3 separate regions of the Homo sapiens genome follow, and regions 2 and 3 are each linked to region 1. Evidence: promoter capture Hi-C in 16 types of primary human blood cells and fetal thymus (Javierre and others, 2016). All regions are on one chromosome and are shown on one strand. Each heading gives the region's core, a stretch centred on a gene start or on the middle of the fragment in contact. The rest is flanking DNA. Distances are from core to core; before and after follow the strand shown. Region 1 holds the start of DECR1 (2,4-dienoyl-CoA reductase 1). Region 2 overlaps PIP4P2 (phosphatidylinositol-4,5-bisphosphate 4-phosphatase 2). Region 3 overlaps PIP4P2 (phosphatidylinositol-4,5-bisphosphate 4-phosphatase 2).

Region 1 (4,236 bases), core at 491-2,990:
TTCCCTGGAACAACCTCCCACATCACAGATGTAAAGACTTTTCTTCTCCCAGGAATTCAAACTTGAGGCTACATGTGCTAGGAAGGGGACAAACCACACTAACAGGTACCTCTCTTGCCTCCCAACCCTGAACCTCAAAACTTCCATATTTTTCTTCAGCAAAGGAATTTCAAAATTGTCAGATTACAATTAATTTTTAAATGAGTTCATTTTCTCCTTCTCAAACTGTATTGTCTAATGGTGTCAGAAGAGCTTGGATAAGGTCTGTATGACCTTATTGCTACAATCCTAATGATGTGTGTTAAAAAATGAAATCTCTGAAGACATCACAGAGCTGTTGTAGATTTCAAATGAGAAATGTCTCTGAAAAGTATCAGAAAATATGGGCTTCCTTTATAATGATCTATAACCCAGTTTTCACAGGGAGAGAAAAAAAATCAGCAAAACCCTAACCCTGAACAAATCTCACTTTTTAAAAGAAAGATACCTTACTTGAGGGAACCACCATACTAATTCTTTGTATTCCTATTTGGAACTACTGCTGCCCATATTTTTTGAAAAACAACACCATGGCTGTCTATTCTATCAAATCAAAAGAAGTTTTTTCACAGTTGACATATTAATTTTTCTACCTGGCTAAAGAAAATGTGCTTTTTAGTTTACTTATAACAATTTTGTAATTTAGATGTGGGGAGGGCTTGTCTTGGATATTATTGCTTCTTTTTGTTTTTGTTTCTCTTTCTTCTTCCTAGCTGTTTTCACTTCCTAGCTATTTCCACTATGGGTGCAATGGAGATGGTGACAGGAGTGTGGGCCAGAGAGAGGGGGAAGCCAGTGTGAGACGGACCTCTCCCAGCTATACATCTGGGAAGGGGAGTCTATAAACAGCTGGGGTTTTGTTTTTGTTTCATTTTTATGATAATTTGTTTGTATTAGTGTTTAATTCCATAACTAACACATAGATGGACTTTCCTCACAACAAAGGACGTCAAAGGTCAGTGCTCGCTCGGCCTGATCCCCTCTCACTCCTTAAGGGGTGGACGGGCGCCGTATCCTTCCCTACCTCTTTCTACCTATTTACACACAAGTTGGAAACTTGCAGAACTGTGAAAACTTCGAAAATCACGTCTCTTCCCTATTCCCCTACACACATCAGGGCTTCATCTGACAGTGGAATACGACCCGGGCCCCGGTGCTCACTCCCGGCGTTGCCCTTCGCTCCGGGACCTGGTGGTCCTCTCTCTCTGCGCCCCAAAACGCCCTGTCCTAGCTCCCTGAGCCCCAGGGACGCCGGGTCCTCTCTTTGTGCCCCAAGACTTCCTGCCCTTTCTCTTGCGCCCCGAGACGTCCTGTCCTCTCTCTCGCTCCCCGGGTTGCTCTGTGCTCTCTTAGCGCTCCAGAACGCCCTGTCCTCTCTCTTTGAGCCCCGGGACACCCTGTCCTCGCTCCCCGAGGCCCCGGGACGCCCTGTCCTCTCTCTCTCTGCGCCTCGGGATGCCCTGTCCTCGCTCCCCGAACCCCCGGGACGCCCTGTCCTCTCTCTTTGCGCCCCAGGATGCCTTGTCCTCGCTCCCCGAGCCCCCGTGACGCCCTGTCCTCTCTCTTTGCGCGTCGAGACGCCCTGTCCTCGCTCCCCGCGCCCCCGGCCGCCTTACCCTCCGAGGAGCGAGGCCACAGGGCAGCCGGGACCCCAGAGTAAAGAAAACCCTGGCCGGTAGCTTCATGTTGAGTCTCCAGAACTCGGGCCGGAAGGCGGCGCAGGCGGTTGGGCGCAGGGGGCGGGACAAAAAGAACAAAGTTCTCGGGGCTGGAAACGCTGCCTAGGCCGCCGGGGGATGGGACGGGGACTGGGACCCAGGCGGCGTGGACGCCCAGCGGCCCTGACCTTCAGAGTCCGGCCGAGGGCGCCGCCTAGCTGGGCCTAGCTGATGCTCTTTCCTGCTCTCTGGGCCAGGAGTGCTTTGTATGGCAGAGAATGGAGGTTCTTTGCGTCCTTGAGCGGGTGTACGAAACCCCGCGCCCTGCAAGGGTTTGCAGATTGCAGCTGCGCACCCCATACACTGCCTATCAAGGGCGAAACTCTTTTTCAGTCGTATGTGTTTATCCCTTAAGTGCGTGTTTAAGTGCAGAGTGCGCGTGGCGCCAAGTCACATATTATCAGAATAATAATATGTTGGATGTAAAACACGGCCTCACTTTCCCTAAGACCAAGAGGCTGAAAAACACTAAGGGCAGCTTCCGGCGTTTTGACTTTTCGCAGGACACACCGCCCCCTGTCGCCGGATGCAGCGTGACTGCGACCGCCCAGCCTTGGCTTTTTTCTCGAAGTTAAACACACGTTAAAGGCAAACACAGATTCAGTATATCATTCTCCATCTTAGTGTAATATACCTGTTGACACAAGGCATTAGCTCAGATCACATTTCTTTCCTCATTCGTAAAATGAGAATATTCATAGCTAATTCAGAATTTTAGATAAAAGAAGATGGGTGTGAGGCCCCAGGCTGAGGCTGATGGTAGATGATATTGAGTGTTTACTATTTGCCTGGCATGTTCCAAATGCTGATAAAGAAACATTTATATCTTCAGAGGAATGTACACTTACATGTAGACATATAGCTTATAAGGTATATAAACTCTGAAAAACTTTGTAATTTTGAGTTGGTCTGGTGATAATTTCCAGGCCTTCTGCCTGTAACTGGTTACAGAAATAAAAACTTTCTTCATCCCCAGTTCATCGACATCTCATTATTGGCAGCAAGAAATAGCAGCCTGACCCTCAGTTTGGTCCAGGAACAAAACTACCACAGATTGGGTGGCTTAAATGGAAATTTGTTTTCTCACAATTCTGGAGGCCACAAGTCAGCAGAGTTGGTTTCTTGTGGAGCCACTGTGGGACCATCTTCTCCCTGTGTCTTTACATGATCCTCCTGTGTACCTTTCCATATCTAAATTGCCTCTTCTTATGAGGACACCAGTCGTGTTGGATTAAGGCCCACCCTCAATGACCTAATTTAACTGGAATTACCTCCCTAAAGACTCTATCTCCAAATATAGCCACATTCTGACATACTGGGGGTTAAGAGTTCAATGTATATATTTGGCTGGGAGAAGAGGGAAGTACACAATTCAGCCCAGAACACTTGCCCTCTTAAATAACTTTTAGACCAGCTTAGGAGGCATTTTCTGTCCTCCCAAAAAAACCTTGAGAATATATCAATAATAAAACTTTTCCTAAGCTCTTGATATATGTATGGCACTGTTATTCTTGACTTCCAAACCAAATTGTAAGTGGGATTCATCTTGTTTCTAAAAAGAAGTTGCAACATTAGTGATACGGTTTGGATTTGTGTCCCTACCCAAATCTCATGTTGAATTGTAATCTCCAGTGTTGGAATTGGGGCCTGGTAGGAGGTGATTGGATCACGGGGACAGATTTCTTCCTTTGGTGCTATTCTCCTGATAGAGTTCTCAGGAGATCTGGTTGTTTAAAAGTGTGTGGCACCTCCCACCCTCTCTCTTCCTCCTGCTCCAGCTGTGTAAGACAGCCTGCTTCCCCTTCATCTTCCACCATGATTGTAAGTTTCCTGAGGCCTCTCAAGTCATGCTTCCTATATAGCCTGCAGAACTGTGAGTCAATTAAACTTCGTTTCTTTATAAATTACTCAGTATGAGGTATTTCTTTATAGCATTGTGAGAATGGAGTAACACAATAAGTAACTTAAAACAATTAATCATTTATTATCTCACAGTTCCCAGGAGTTAGGAGTCTAGGCACAGCTTAGCTGGATCCTTGGCTCTGGGTCTCAGAAGACTGCAATCAAGGTGTCAACTAGGCTGTTTTTATCTGGAGGCTCAGCTGGAGAAGATCTGATCCCAAGCTCATCCAGATTGTTTGCAGAATTATTTTCCTCATAACCATATAACTGACAGCCCCACATTTTTGCTGGATGTTGGCTGGAGTTGCCTTCAGCTTCTAGAAGTCACCTCCATCCCTTCCCATGTGGGCTTCCTCAGCAGACTGCTTACTACATCAAGCCAGCAAGGACAATTCTGTACCTCAGGGAGGCCCCAGCCCATCTTTTAAGGACAATCACCAGATTAAGTGAGGCCCACTGAAAATAGTCTTAACCCCTTTTTGATTAACTAAAATCAACTGACTTGGGACTGCAAACCAAAAAGTGACTGAGGCAGATCTCTGTGGGTTAGCGATCATTTAGCCAAGGTTGAGAACAT
Region 2 (4,236 bases), core at 1,042-3,541, 1.0 Mb before region 1:
CTTTTGAGTGTTTTAGAAAGATCATTATGTATGCCTTGTGATCCATAAACTATCATTCTCTCCCTTTTATGAGTCCGTTTTTCTCTGAAGTTTTTACTGTGAAATGATTCTTCTTTTTAAAATATATTCTAATTCCCCCCCACCCCGATTCTTCCTTCTCCTCTTCCTCTTAATTCTCTTTAACCAAGATTTCATTCTCCAGAAATCTACATTATCAGATGTTTGCTTGTTCCTAGAAAAATCCCCCCATTGGTCCTTAAATATTTTCCCTGTATTAAGTCATTATTTATTAAAGGAGACAGCTGTTATTGTGGAGCGATCTCCAGAACAGGAGTCAGCTCTTGGCTTTGCTGAAGTTGTGTATAACCCTTAAAAAGTCAGAATTTCTGGGTTTGTTTTCTCCTTTGTAAAATAAAGAAATTAGACTTCATAATTCCAAAGATTGTTTGAATTTCTAACATTGTTCTATTCTGGAGCTTTGAGGGAGTTTTTTTTTAGGATTAAGGACTACTGGCCTAACAAATACTGCTCACATGGAGGAAAAAAGCTTTTTAATTTAGAAAAACCCCATGGAGAAAAATGACCATTGTTTAGATAACAAGTAAGACTTTTCCAAAATGAGGAATTTTTGTGACTTTCAACATCTAATGATCCTAAGTTCTGAGATTACAGTGGACTTTTTAAATGTAGTGCAGAAATTTAAAATAGGTAGGATACTGGTGATCGGTTGTTTTAAAGTGAAAATATAGGCATGGTGGTGCATGCCTGTATTCCCAGCTACCGAGGAAGCTGAGGTGAGAAGATCACTTAAGCCCAGGAGTTCAAGACTGTATTGAGCTATGATTATGCCAAAGTGAAAAGAGACAAAATGAATAAATCTAAGTTAATTTAATTATTATAGGTTTAATCTATAATAATCCAATTATTAATCATTTAAATTAATAATCTTATTCTAATTATTGTAGGTTTACTAACTGTGGAATCTCCAGAATTACAAGTCCCATATAAGAGGAGATGGAGCTACAAGTAAATGTTTCCTTGAGGTAAAATCTGAGAGAAAGGGAAAGGCCAAAAGTACAAGAAATAATCTGTCTAAATCAGTTTAAGGCTGAAGTAATGGATAGAACATTGAAATGAAAGGCCAGGAAGCACTGTTTATTGTGGCAATTAGGCTGCAGCATCTGTCATTCTATTGATCTCTTGGATTGATTCCATTTATCTGGTGGGCCAGGCCAGTGTCCCCTGACTACTTCACCTCTCTCAGTGCATTATTTGGAGAGAGTTGTCTTCTATATAAAAGAAGCCCTTGTTTTCCATCAAGCTGCACTCCCCTGCTAGAACCTTAGCTCCTCTGCAAGGAGAGTAGGGTTAATGTATTAGGTTGGTGCAAAAGTAATTGCGGTTTTTGCTATTTGAAAGTCGTAGCAAAAACCGCAGTTACTTTTGCAGCAACCTAATACTTGGTGTTATTTTTCCAAGACAAATAGATATGTCTAATAAATTTTAGTGACTCGCTGATTTATTAATTAATTCAACCATTGAATAAACATTTAGTAAGCATCATCATAGACCAGGCATTATGACAAGCGCTGGTGAAGTAGCTGTGGACAAACCAGATGTGCCCCTGGCCTCGTGGAGCTTATGGTCTCTCTTATATTAGATTTATAATCTTCACTGCTTGTTCTGTCCATGTCCCTCCACTTCCCAAGCCTCCAAAAGAGTAGATTTGAGCATATTTCTGTCATTGAAGGCGTTTTTTTTTTGGCAGATTAAAAATTATATAGTACAAATCTTAGAAGAAAAATTCACAGGGTTTTACTGGCTCTAATGCCCTTTTAATGATTGTTAAGATCACCCTCTGAAATTTTCTTAGGAGATTTCTTTGAGCAAAGCTGAGGAGTGTATGGGTTGGTGTCCTTTTATGTAGTGTAGCAATATGTCACTTCCTCCTCTCCCCCTAATGCCCTTGTTTTCTTTATAAAACTGTCTTGCATTTAAGTTTCCTTTCTATCATACTGTGTAAGATAGAGACCTGGGATTACGAGAGAACTATGTAATGTTACTGTACAACTCAAGGAAAAGGCCAGAGAGGAAGCAACTTTTGTTAATAATGCTACTGCAAATAATTATTAAAATAATATTCATTATCATATACCAGGCAGTGTGTCTTGAATTTCTAGTGAGGTACATATTCTTTCCCCAAGAATAATGTCTTTATTGAGATCTGACAAAGTAATCTGCAAATTGCAAGACCTTAAGTATATTGTTGACTCATTGTTTCTTTAACATGTTTTTTTCTTCTTGATTAATACATTACAGGTCACTCTGGATCACGCTCAAATTCTTTTCATGGATTTAAAATTATTTTTATAATTTAAGACATGTACAGCTTCTTTTGAATTTCAGTGTTTGGCAGTGTTCTGTTATAAGCCTCCCAGAAACATAAGCATATCGTCATTTCAAAGTGGCCTCTTTCAGAGCCTTGGCTGCTGCAGAAATTTGTCTTATGAATCATTTGAACGAATACCACTTGTTGCTAATCCTTAGCAGTCTGAAAAAAATCCTATATTATAACCCAAGGATCAGGTAGAAATATGTGTATTTTAAACATACCAAAATGTTTTATGCTCTAATTCTTTTTAAAATATCACAAAGTTTAGGACCTAATACAGTGGATAGAAAACCTTTATTTCAAAAATAGCTCTTATTATGCTTAGCTATTGTGATTATATTTTATAGTGTTACAGAAGCCTCTTGAGATACCAGTTCTCTTTCGTGCTTCAATCATATGTTAGAGTGTGGCCCTTTCTAAATGTCCCAAGACAAAACTTTACCTTGGAAAAGTCTTCTATTCCTGTAGTTGAGATAGTTACAGAAAGGGGTTAGGCAGTCTCCTTTAGAAATCCCATTCCAGAGTAGTATATCAGGATTCCTTTTCTCAGACTTTTGTAACAAATATACACTTCTGGTAGATACTTGATTTTGAAAGTGGGCCTCCACCCTTCACTCACTCACTGAGTCAACCTTAGGACTCTCAAAAAAAACACTGTGTGTGTGTCTTTGTATTATGGGAATTTTCAAACATACACAAAAGTAGTGTGAAACTATGACCTTCCATGTCATTATATTCATCAGTTATCAACATTTTGCTACTTGTTTCATCTGGTTCCCCATTCTTTTTGTGGTGGTTGTTGTTATGGTTTTTGAAGTTTTTAATCCCACATACTACATTTTTTTACTCATAAACACTTTGGTGCATTTCTTACATTTTTAATGGTAGGTAAATTTTGAGACTAAAAATTGTTATATTTACTTTATTTTTGTTTTGTGTCTGAAATTAGCATGGTTCCCATTTTTGTTCCATGCTGAGAAGTTTAGTTTTCTTAGGTTCATTTTTGTTTCTTCTTGACTTCCTCCAACACCTTGTTTTATTCTTGTCATAGCCAGCAGTCATTATACTGGTTCCAATATAAAGACAGAGCATGACAGCTACATAATTTATATGTATGGATAAGCAATTTTAAAACTTTGCTTTCATCGACCATTTTTATTTCCTGGGAATCAGATCACTTGTGTAAAATTTTTATTGTAGGCATAAATTACCACTCTCCTGTTAGAGACTGTATGAATTTACTAATAGGAATGGAGTGACATTTTGAGTATAGATTAGTAAAAGGAAACTGGGTTATTGGGATAGACCTAGGCAAACATGATTTAGATTTTATCAGAGTTAAGAATTATTTTACTTGATAAGAGTCTCATGGATGTTTGTGCTCTAAAAGTAAGATAAATTGGCTAGCTTTGAAAAATAAATAAAAGAACGTGGGAAAATCTTGATTGTTTCTTCTTTACTTATATTGCCTCTATACTCAAACCAGCCATAGTAATTTCTCCAAGACTCTGATTCAGTGACTAATATCTTTTCAGCGGAGCTCCCACCTCCATATACAGCCATTGCCAGTCCAGACGCCAGTGGTATTCCAGTAATAAACTGCCGTGTGTGCCAATCACTAATCAATTTGGATGGCAAGCTTCACCAGCATGTGGTTAAGTGCACAGTTTGCAATGAAGCTACGGTAAGTGGAGATTTCCATTAGAAAAAATATAAATTGTTATTTGACATTTTATTCCTAAAGGAAGTACTTCAATAATGTTACTTAAAAGTATATGTGGGCTGGATACAAATATGGTAATCTTTTTTCCTGTCTTTTCTTCTGTCTCTCTTTCATCATAGGA
Region 3 (4,236 bases), core at 713-3,212, 1.0 Mb before region 1:
ACTTCTCAGCCTCTATAATCACAGTAGCCAATTTCCTTGATAAATTGCCTCTTATCTATTTCATCTATCTATCTATCTATCTATCTATCTATCTATCTATCTATCTATCTATCTATCTATCTATCTCCTGTTGGTTCTGGCTTTCTGGAGAACCCTGACTAATACAATGGTTTCTTTTCCTTAAAGTTTGTTTTCTTGGTTTCCAGATACTGCTTTCTCCTGGGTTTCTCCTACTTCTCACAACTCTTCTTTGTTGGCTTTACTTTCTCTTCCAAGTTGTTAAATTTTGCTATTTTCCAAAGTTGGAACTTGACCGCACTTTATCCGGGTTTTCTCTTATGTTCCTATGTCATTTAGATGCCATTAAATGACCCCAGATATTTCTTTGGAGCTTCAGATTTAAATATACTATCTCTATTCACTATCTAGCCTAGAATTATTTCAACTTGATATCTCATGGTCATTTCAAGCACAACCTGACCCAGCATTCCCACCTTACTCTGCAAACCAATCTCCCATGTGTATTGATAAATATATTATGTTTTTCTTTTTCACCCCCTACATTATTTCTAGAAAAAGAATATATTATTTTAATGAATGTTATCCTGTCTGTCCAACTGACCAACCAAGAAATATTAGTGTATTTTTTATCATTCTCCATATTTAAATGGTAATATCCTATCAATTATGTCCCTTGACATTTTAATTCTGTCCTCTTATTCTCATGATTTCTACTTCAGTTCATGTATTCAGCATCTCTCACCAGGACTATTGCATTGGTTTTCTAATTTATCTCTTGACCTCCAATACTGCAATTATCTATTCATTTACTAGAGTGGTAGTTCCTAAATGCATACGTCATTTTAGATTCTCTGGCATCAAATCTTTTAGTGGCTCCCAATTTCTTAGCCATGGCATACAGTTGTGCAAGTTGTATGCTGCACAACCCGAAGAGGTACAATTTCCATTGTTATTTTAGGTTTGTATATTTAGTTTCATATAAATTATTCTGAGGACTTCTTTTACTTATTGGCATAAATGTACCATATGGTTTACTATCAGCCCATTGCCTAAAATCCAAAATCAAACTCCAAACTTCTTTTAGTCTTTGCCTAACTTTTCTAGGGATATCTTTGTTTTCTTCTGTCTCTACACACACAACCTAGTTATTTCCTAGCCCCAACAAATTGCACTTCTACTTCCACAAACATATTATGCAGTTTCTTTCTTCTGTTCCTGAGTCTTATCCTGCTAGACCTAGAATGGCCTGGCTACTCCTTTCCTTGCCCTTGTCTACCTAGAAAACACCTATTTAACCTAAAAAATTAGCTGAAACATCCCTTGCTTCTACTCTTCATCTGTAGAAACATTCTGTGGCACAAAGGTTATTCTGCTGCTTATTCCTTGAACAAATTTTCTTTTCACACCTGAACAATTCTAATGTAATCAGCTGAAATGACTTACTCCCCCATCTATTCACATTTTAAGCTATCCTTAAGTCTTGTGTAATAAAGCCATCCCTGGCTGCCTTGTCTGAAAATTGTAATGTAAAGAACATTGTTTGCCGCCTTTTCCCCTTATAAATTCCTGTAGCACTAGCTACACTACCATTTTCCAGGTGTTCTTCATAATCCTAGTGTTTCATAAGGTGTTTTTGTGAAGCGAAAGATTAATAATTTGAAGAGTGAATAGTTAGATGTTTGAGAGCATTGAATGGTCTTTTCAGCTTGGAGATTCACTGTCCACATTTTTGTATATGCCCTTGACTTTCACATGCAGTAATATAAAAAACCAATTAGCTGTAAAAATCATCCTTTTAAATGCATAGCTCAGCTCATATGACAGTTGGGGACCAAAAATGAAGATTAAGTGACAACCAGGACTATCCTGAAGGTATATGCCAACACTAGGGATCTACAGCCTTGGAAGAATGAGAGAGAAGGCATTGGCCTCACACAAGGTAGCGGGGTTAGAATACTGCCTCCTCCCAATAAAGTACTTAAAGTACTCTTCCCCTGGAAAAGAGTGAGTTAGGAAAAAGAAATCAACCAGAAAAGGAAGATTGCAGAGGAAAAAATTTATAAGAACAGTGAATTTAGGTTTATATTTTTATATCACTTATGCGATCTAGGAAAACCTAGTTCCAGAAACTGACTTAAAGTTTAGGGTTAGTATCAGTCTAGGGAGCCTGCGAAAAGCAAATGAAAGTTCTGTATGTAGGAAAGCACCCCCAAACTATGCATGCCAAAATTTTTTTATATTGAGATCTGCCAAAATAAGTTTTCAACAAAAGTTACTAGTCATAGGAGAAAACAAGATTCCAGAAGCATAATCAACATTGACAACAAACAGCATAATTAGACCTCTAAAAACTTCAGATTTATAATTATTAAATATGGAGTATGTTAAAACTATGCCTAAGATGTTTTAAAATAAAAATAAGAGAAAACATGTAAGACTATTTAAAAATTACCAGGTACTCACAGAAATGTATATGTGAGTGTTTGTAGCAAATTTGACACATGCAACAGCTTGGATGAATTGAATTTATGCTGAGTAAAAAAAAAAACTTAGCCATACAAGGTTACCTGCAGTAAGATTTCATTTATGTAACATTTTTCAAATGACAAAATTGTAGAAATAGGGAACAGATTAATGATGGTGTGGCAGGCACAGGGTGCGGGATGGGCAGAAAGGAGGGTGTGGTTATAAAAGGATCCTTACAGTGATAGACTGTTCTCTATTTTAGCTGTGGCAATAGATACATGAACCTAAACGTGATAAAATTGCATAAAATTAAAGAAAAATCCATACTCATATACCTGAGAAATCTGAATATTGGTGGATTATATGAATGTTAATATCCTGTTTATAATATTGTATTATAATTTGCAAGATTTACTATGGGGGAAATAGGGCAAAACGTACATGGTATTTTTATGTGTTATTTATTACAACTGCTTGTGAATCTATAATTGTCTCAAATAGAAATTTGCAAAAAATAACCAGATAGATATAGAAAGAAACAATAGAACTTCTAGAAATTATTACAGAAATTAAAATGCACGTACGGTTTAAAGAACAGATCAGCTAAAGGTGAAGACTAAAGTTGTGAATTGGAAGATAGAGGTAAGTGAATTACCCAGAATCTAGCATAGAGAGACAAAGATGAATGTAAGATTAAGAGAAAATATATTATTAAGATGCCAATTATATATCTGATCTGGAAGGAACAAATAAAGAATGGGATATGGCATTTTAGGAGATAATCTCAAATAATTTTCAGATCTATGAAAGATATGAATTTTTATATTCAAAAAGAACAATGAAATCCAAGCAGGATAAGTAAATGTGTTACAGTGAAATTGTAGAAAACCTAAGAGAAATAGAAGGTAATTAAAAGCAGAGAGACAAAAGGCATATTTTCAATAAGAAAAAGATAACAGTTCTGTCAGCAAATGTCTCAACAGCAAAAATAGAAGCCAGAAAACAAGTTTTAAAATACATCAAAAATACTAAGAGAAATTAACTGTCAAACTGGTATTATACACCTATCTAAACCATCAAAGAATAATGAAGGTAAAATAAGTATATTTTCAAAAGCAAAACCAACAAACTTACAAACAAAACCCAGGGTATCTACCATCCTGGTACCCTTACTAAAAAAAAAAAAAACTGCTAAATGATGAACTAGGGAATATGAACAAATATTCCAGAAGAAATTTCTGCAGTGCAGGAAGGAAAGGTAAACCAAGAAATTGTAACAATTCACCAGAAACACTGACTGTATAAAATAGCCAAAACGACAGTACCAATTATATTAATGCTAATAAGTTTTGAGAAACAAAAATACAATAAAACTGAAATATTGGAAAACAGTAGCATTAAGATGCTAGTGGAATGTTTGGTGTTAAAACTTTCTAAAATCTTTATATTTATCAGGAAGATGGATTTAATAATTGACTTTAGTTTTTAAAACATATGAAAGTTAAAATTTTAAGTGCAACTGCCAAATGAATGAAATAAATTGTAAAACTTTCAGAATAATAAGAGGAAAATGAAATGAAAGAGTCATGGTCAATATAAAAGAAGTCTGGAAATAAAGGTAGAAAAGCAGAAAATACAGGAATAGTAGAAAGCCAAAATAAGGTGTCAGAAATAGTCCATGTATATCATTAGACTAATCTTGCTAGTAAAACTTAACAGTAATGGTAAGACTAGATGTAAGAACAGCTA

The links. Contacts are between HindIII fragments. The CHiCAGO score rates a contact against its expected background, and 5 or more counts as called.
Region 2: a fragment that was not itself captured here is called in contact with the fragment with the promoter of DECR1 in region 1 in 3 of 17 cell types (neutrophils, M2 macrophages and monocytes); the score reaches 9.9 in neutrophils.
Region 3: a fragment that was not itself captured here is called in contact with the fragment with the promoter of DECR1 in region 1 in 2 of 17 cell types (neutrophils and total CD4 T cells); the score reaches 7.6 in neutrophils.

The regions. Positions count from the first base shown.
Region 1 is chr8:89,998,981-90,003,216 of GRCh38, reverse strand. It overlaps DECR1 (2,4-dienoyl-CoA reductase 1), which reads right to left and starts at 1,740. Exons shown (of 10, transcript NM_001359.2): 1 at 1,656-1,740. The coding sequence starts at 1,724. RefSeq lists enhancers at 1,114-1,253, 2,102-2,396 and a silencer at 1,724-1,823. The HindIII fragment of the contact is 6,361 bases long and covers 1-4,236 here.
Region 2 is chr8:91,021,096-91,025,331 of GRCh38, reverse strand. PIP4P2 (phosphatidylinositol-4,5-bisphosphate 4-phosphatase 2) reads left to right here. Exons shown (of 7, transcript NM_018710.3): 2 at 3,928-4,076. Among named protein-coding and RNA genes, the nearest start is that of PIP4P2, 18 kb to the left of the region's middle. The HindIII fragment of the contact is 3,484 bases long and covers 550-4,033 here.
Region 3 is chr8:90,999,839-91,004,074 of GRCh38, reverse strand. The region is part of intron 5 of PIP4P2 (phosphatidylinositol-4,5-bisphosphate 4-phosphatase 2); the gene reads left to right. Among named protein-coding and RNA genes, the nearest start is that of C8orf88, 17 kb to the right of the region's middle. The HindIII fragment of the contact is 7,791 bases long and covers 1-4,236 here.